Linked DNA regions of Homo sapiens: region 1 is linked to region 2. Evidence: promoter capture Hi-C in 16 types of primary human blood cells and fetal thymus (Javierre and others, 2016). All regions are on one chromosome and are shown on one strand. Each heading gives the region's core, a stretch centred on a gene start or on the middle of the fragment in contact. The rest is flanking DNA. Distances are from core to core; before and after follow the strand shown. Region 1 overlaps FBXL20 (F-box and leucine rich repeat protein 20). Region 2 holds the start of CACNB1 (calcium voltage-gated channel auxiliary subunit beta 1).

What was found. The method cuts DNA at HindIII sites, captures the fragments that hold promoters and counts their contacts. A CHiCAGO score of 5 or more calls a contact.
Region 1: a contact is called between a fragment that was not itself captured here and the fragment with the promoter of CACNB1 in region 2, in 1 of 17 cell types (megakaryocytes). The highest score is 5.3, in megakaryocytes.

The regions. Positions count from the first base shown.
Region 1 is chr17:39,387,472-39,390,841 of GRCh38, reverse strand. The region is part of intron 1 of FBXL20 (F-box and leucine rich repeat protein 20); the gene reads left to right. Among named protein-coding and RNA genes, the nearest start is that of FBXL20, 12 kb to the left of the region's middle. The HindIII fragment of the contact is 798 bases long and covers 897-1,694 here.
Region 2 is chr17:39,196,066-39,199,636 of GRCh38, reverse strand. CACNB1 (calcium voltage-gated channel auxiliary subunit beta 1) reads left to right here and starts at 1,968. Exons shown (of 14, transcript NM_000723.5): 1 at 1,968-2,225. The coding sequence starts at 2,142. RefSeq lists silencers at 1,671-1,800, 1,811-2,210, 2,641-2,770. The HindIII fragment of the contact is 8,246 bases long and covers 1-3,571 here.

The sequences.
Region 1 (3,370 bases), core at 46-2,545, 190 kb before region 2:
CTCCTTACCTCGTGATCCACCTGCCTTGGCCTCCAAAAGTGCTAGGATTACAGGCGTGAGCCACTGTACTTGGCCTACTAATGACCTCTTTATTTATCTGACTCAGTTTTTGTTTGAGACAGGGTCTTGATCTATCACCCAGGTTGGAATGCAGTGGTGACATCAGGGCTCACTGCAGCCTTGACCTCTGGGGCCCAGGCCATCCTCCCACCTCTGTCTCCCCAGTAGCTGGGACTACAGGTGGGTGCCACCATATCTGGCTATTTTTTTTTTTTTTTTAAGATGGAGTCTTGCGCTCTGTCACCCAGGTTGGAGTGCAGTGGCGCCATCTCAGCTCACTGCAACCTCTGCCTCCCAGGTTAAAGTGATTCTCCTGCCTCAGCCTCCCTAGTAGCTGGGATTACAGGTGCCAACCACCACGCCTGGCTAATTTTTGTATTTTTAGTAGAAACGGGGTTTCACCATGTTGGTCAGGCTAGTCTTGAACTCATGACCCCAGGTGATCCACCTGCCTCGGCCTCTCAAAGTGCTGGGATTGATTACAGGTGTGAGCCACCGCGTCTGGCCAATTTTTGTATTTTTTTGTAGAGATGGGATTTCGCCATGTTGCCCAGGCTGGTCTCAAACTCCTGGACCTTGGCTTCCCAAAGTGCTGGGATTACAGGTATGAGCCACTGCACCCAGCCTAATCAGTTTTTTATATTGGGTTTATTAAACAGGAATGCCTATGAATTTTAATCTAGTTCAACAGTAATAATTTAGTAGTGTTTCAGTCTAGAATTTATACTGCAACTATTATTGTACTCATTGTTAGGCAAATATGAATAAGTGTCTCCTAAGATGAAAATCTGGCACCAAATTGTAAGTTGACATCTAAAACACTGGATCAGCAAGCTTTTAACCGCACCCTACCTCCGCCCCCAGAAATGGGTCATTCTTCCTTCTCTGATATGTAGAAAGTAAAGCTATGACATGATTAAACACAGACATTAAAGATGCATTTATTTATTTATTTGTTTATTTAGAGACAGAGTCTCACTCTGTCACCTAGGCTGGAGTTCAGTGGTGCGATCTTGGCTCACTGCAAGTTCCGCCTCCTGGGTTCACGCCATCCTCCTGCCTCAGCCTCCTGAGTAGTTGGGACTACAGGCACCTGCCACCACACCTGGCTAATTTTTTGTATTTTTAGTAGAGACAGGGTTTCACCGTGTTAGCCAGGATGGTCTCGATCTCCTAACCTTGTGATGTGCTTGCATCAGCCTCACAGAGTGCTGGGATTACAGGCATGAGCCACTGCACTTGGCCTGCATTTATTTTTTAAAACGAGCACTGCATTGCCAATACCCTTTCCCACTGCACTTGGCCTGCATTTATTTTTTAAAACGAGCACTGCATTGCCAATACCCTTTCCCGACATTCGTCCTTATCAGCTTTTTGAAAATCGTTTGCATGTGTTTCATGTAAAGAAAAGAAGGTCATATTAAACAAAATCATATCACAACTTATTTCTGCCACCCACTTGTAGAAAAGCAACCTGATGTATCTTGGCGTTCTCCTAGGACTGGTTAAAACTTTTCTTTAATACTATAACTTTCCTTGTACATTATCATGAATAGTAACTGCAGGGAGATAAGAAACTTCATTATTATTCAGTATTCTTAGTCACAGTTGACTGGGGTTATATAAAAGAAGCTTCCCAAATGTAGATCTAATTTTTTTTTTTTTTTTTTTTTTTTTGAGATGGAGTTTTGCTCTTGTTGCCCAGGCTGGAGTGCAATGGCGTGATCTCAGCTTACTACAACCTCCGCCTCCCGGGTTCAAGCGATTCTCCTGCCTCAGCCTCCCTAGTAGCTGGGATTATAGGCGCCTGCCACCATGCCCAGGTAATTTTCTGTATTTTTAGTAGAGATGGGGGTTTCATTATGTTGGTCAGGCTGGTCTCGAACTCCTGACCTCAGGTACTCCACCCACCTCAGCCTCCCAAAGTGCTGGGATTACAGGCGTGAGCCACTGCACCCGGCAGATCTAATTTTTTAAAGCACAACAAAAAATGCAGCTTTTGCCGGGCGCGGTGGCTCACACCTGTAATCCCAGCACTTTGGGAGGCCAAGGTGGGTGGATCGCGAGGTCAAGAGATCGAGACCATCCTGGCCAACATGGTGAAACCCCGTCTCTATTAAAAGTATAAAAATTAGCTGGGCATGGTGGCGGGCGCCTGTTGTCCCAGCTACTCGGGAGGCTGAGGCAGGAGAATTGCTTGAACCCGAGAGGCGGAGGTTGCAATGAGCTGAGATTACGCCATTGCACTCCAGCCTGGGCGACAGAGCGAGACGCCGTCTCAAAAAAAAAAAATTAAAAAAAAAAAAGCAACTTTTTTTTTTTGAGACAGGTTCTTGTTCTGTTGCCCAGGCTGGAGCCATAGTAGTGCGATCTTGGCTCACTGCAACCTCCACCTGCCAGGCTCAGGTGATTCTTGTGCCTCACCTTCCCGAGTAGCTGGAATTACAGTCGTGTGCCACCATGCCCAGCTATTTTTTTTGCACTTTTAGTAGAGATGAGATTTTGCCATGTTGGTCAGGCTGGTCTCAAACTCCTGAGCTTAAGCAATCTGCCTGCCTTGGTCTCCCAAAGTGCTGGGATTACACGTGTGAGCCACCATGCCTGGTCAAAATAAGTTTTTAATATAGAAAGAATACCAAGAAAAAATAATACCATTTTCTCAAGCATTTATATTACTTATTATTTCAATAATGTGAAATTTGCATTATAAGTGGTCTCAATAAATGGCGTTCTGAAGTTGTGGTCAAGATCTAGCTGATCCTCTAACCACTGTCAAATATATATTCAAATGAAATATGTAATTAACTCATCACATTACCTTTTTAGTTTTTATAATACAGATGGGACTGTGCCCTGATAAACCTATGATAAATTGAAAGTATCGTAAGTTGGAAACGTAGTTAAGGCCTGGTGCGGTCACTCACGCCTGTAACCCCAGCACTTTGCGAGACCAAGGTGGGAGGATCGCTTGAGCCCAGGAGTTCAAGACCAGCTTGAGCAATATAGTGAGACCTCATCTCTACAAAAAATTTAAAAATTAGCTGGGCATGATGGTGCACACCTGTAGTCCCAACTACTTGGGAGGGTGAGGTAGAAGGATTGCTTGAGCCCAGGAAGTGGAGGTTGTAGTGAGCCAAGATCATGCCTCTGCACTCCAGCCTGGAAGACAGAGTGAGACCTTGTCTCAAAAAAAAAAAAAAAAAGATTGGGCGCTGTGGCACACGCCTGTAATCCCAGCACTTTGGGAGGCCGAGACGGCCAGATCACCTGAGGTCAGGAGTTCGAGACCAGCCTGGCGAACATGGTGAAA
Region 2 (3,571 bases), core at 719-3,218:
AATTGGGTTGGGCTCGATGGCTCATGCCTGTAATCCCAGCACTTTGGGAGGCCAAGGCAGGCGGATCACTTGAGGTCAGGAGTTCGAGACCAGCCTGGCCAACATGGTGAAACCCTGTCTCCACTAAAAATACAAAAATTAGCCGGGCGTAGCGGCGCGTGCTTGTAATTCCAGCTACTGGGGAGGCTGAGGCAGGAGAATCGCTTGAACCCAGGAGGCGGAGGTTGCAGTGAGCCGAGATTGCGCCACTGCACTCCAGCCTGGGCAACAGAGTGAGACTCCGTCTCAAAAAAAAAAAAAAAGCAGTCCTTTTCTTCTGATCTGGAACACCCAATGTAAAAATCCAAGAAGAACATTCTGGGGTTTAAGAAGTCTACATCTGAATTGAGGCTCCAACTCATGATTGGTTCCTGCTGATCACCCTATCCGTTTCATCTCAACTTTCCTGGCTGAGAAAGTAGAAGAGAGAGAAAGGGAAGCAACATTTATGCTACTTCCTCACAACAACACGATTAGCGTTGCCCTCATTTTACAGCTAAGGTAACAGATTCAGAACACAGATATTTCTGATTGCAAAGCCCATACTTTTGCGGTTATGCCAGCCTTTCTTGTCTCCAAGGGGCAGGTGGAAACCCTGCTCAGGGTTGGAACTCTCCTGGAACGTTTCTAATGGGCTTCATCTTCACTCACTGCTCCGCCTTCCCCAAGGTGTTGTGATCAGAGGAATGACAGACTGACCATTCACTTGCTATTAGAGTTGGGTGAGGAGGAGGAGTCCCATAGTCTCCTGTCCTGCGGAACACAGCAAGGTGGTGGCCTTATTGTAAGGTCACTTGACCTGGAGAGGGTCTTCTCCATCTCTCCTTTCTGTGGAGCAGGAGAAGGGGTGGAGTAGGAAGGGAATGGGTCCTCCTGTCATGAGTGACCCCTTCATTGAAACTTACAGCTTCTCCAAACACCCCAGCAATTCATTTAATTCTCCCTCATCCTCCCAATAATACCAGGTGACACAGACTCCACAGTACCAGCAACCCCATTTTATAGGAGAGGAGGAAACTGATGCTCAGAGAGGTGATTTGTCCGGGGCTATACAACCAGAAACAGCCTGAGCCAAATTGGCGCCAGAGTCTATTGCCCAGAATCTCCTATTCCTCTTCTCTCCACCAGTCATGGTGGGTGGCATCCAGATCTTGGATGTTTCTCCCTAAATCAGGGGTAAAGGTGGCGCAATTCTAGGTCAAAGGTCATGAGATCTGATTTTACCAGCTTCTCCTCTCTCAGCTCCATATTTCTTCCTCTTTTCTCATCCAAGAGCAGGGACCTCACCCAGCCCCATTCCTGGCCTTTTGGAAGAACAGGGGTTGGGGGGGCGGTGTATCCTAGTGACTGATTAGGGCAGAACTCCTGGACCCCTGGGATTTATTTTGCTGTCTCTATTGGACACCCTCCCCATCTCAGCCTCAGCCTCCCACCGGCAGCCCCAGAGCCATGTTGGAGGGAGAGGCTTTTCTGTTTGGTTTGAGGCAGCCTGGGCCCCACACTGGGGAGAAAGGAGTTAAAGCCAGGTCCCAGGATCACCGGGACCGGGAAGTTCCGGTGGTCCAAACAGGAGTGGGTTGGGGGGACCCGCAGGAAGAGAGGTTTGGGACAAAAGGGGGGTGGTGCCAGCCATGCCAATCCCCATCAGCGCTCGGCATCCACTGGTAGACCGCCCCCCCACCCCTCCCCCAAGTTCCACGCCTAGTTTCTGCCTTCCCGCCCCAGCGGGCCGCCTGCACCCCACGGCCAGTCAGAGGCCCACCTGCGGCCACCTAGAGCCGAGAGGGGCTTGCCTCCCTGCTGCCGCACGCCCATTGTGTGCGCCGAGCCGGCGGAGGGGCTGCGAGGGGCGGGGCCGGGCGGGCGGAGGGAGGGAGCGAGGGAGGGGCGCGGGGAGATGCTGAGCCTACGGGGGAGGCGGCGGCGGCAGTGGAGAGAGCGGGAGGAGCGAGGGAAGGCAGGAAGGAGGCAGCCGAAGGCCGAGCTGGGTGGCTGGACCGGGTGCTGGCTGCGCCGCGCTGCTTTCGGCTCCCACGGCCTCTCCCATGCGCTGAGGGAGCCCGGCTGGGCCGGGCCGGCGGCGGGAGGGGAGGCTCCTCTCCATGGTCCAGAAGACCAGCATGTCCCGGGGCCCTTACCCACCCTCCCAGGAGATCCCCATGGAGGTCTTCGACCCCAGCCCGCAGGTGAGGCGTGGTGGCCCGGCCCAACGGGAGGGGGTCGCTCCCGCGGACCGTGTTAAGGTCGGCTCGAGAGGCGCGGGAGAGGAAGGGGTTATATGCCGGGCGCGGAGGAGAGAGGGATGCCTGCGCGCCCCCCATCCTTGCAGGTTGTGATTGATGGGCGCTGGGCCTGGGGCTGGGTGGCGATGCTGCGGAGCGGGGAGGGGGCGGGTGGGCTGCCTGTCACCCTCGCCTCCTTATCTCCCCCGCGTCAAGGTTCCTGCCGCTTGGGCACCAGCTTCAGTGGGCTGAGCGTGGGGGTGCTGGTGGAGGGGGATCTGGGCCTTGAGAAGGGGAGGTTGAAAGAGGCTAGAAAGCGAGCCAGGCAAGGGGGGCGACGCAGAGCACGCTCGGGGGCGCCAGGCGGGTGTGGGTGGGGCGGGGGTGGCACGAGGAGGTGGCCGAGGCGATGGTCAGAGGGCGGTGCCAAATGCCAACAGGCCTTCAAAGCCGCAGACACTGGTTCTCGAGGGTGGGGAAAGAGCCAACCCCGGTCGAGGTCCCCTCCCAGCCACCTGGGCTCCATCTCTATGTCGGACCTGCTCCCCTCCCCCCACACCCACGTTGACTTACCCCACCCCCACCCCCGCCCCAAAAACGCCTCCAAAGTTTGGAAAGTTGGATGGATGCCAACTCATAGGAGGGGGGGAAGCTGTTTTACCTGGGGGAGGGGTCTACTTCTCCATCCCCACCCGCACACTTTTCCTACACCCCTGGTTACTCCCAGGAAGTGGCATTCTTGGGCGCGGTGGGTTCTCATGGGGTGACCAGCAGGCTCTGGGATGGTCGCGCCAGGGGATTTCTTTGGGAGTGTCCTTCTCCAAGGATAGCATTAACTCTTCTGTTACTGTGGCCACCAGCTGTAACCACCATGATAATGTGACTGATGGGTATGTAGAGGGGTCAAGTCAGACCTAAAAATACCTTCCTCCACCCCAGGCCCCTTTGAGCCTGGGAGGCAGCTGACTGGGGCCTTCCTTTCAGCTGTCCCCTGTCCCTCTGAGTGCCACTCCCTTTGCCCAGCCTGGCAGTGGTGGGGGAGGGTGGTGTCTGGGATTCACTGGGTGATCCTCCTAGGTTTGTAGGGAGCATCACAACTTGAGTTGGGGTATATGTCTGGTTTGAGAGAAGGGCGGGGAGGGGAGGATCTTGGAAAGGTCCCCAGGGGCCCTCCTCTCCCATTTTCCATCCTCTTTCTTGTACCCTGATCCCAGCAGCCAAAGCCCCCAGTCTGGTCATGGCCCCTCCAGGTTCTTTGGCCAAAGAAAGTCTAGGATGGAGACCAAGGGCGGGGACTTGGAAGTCTGAGC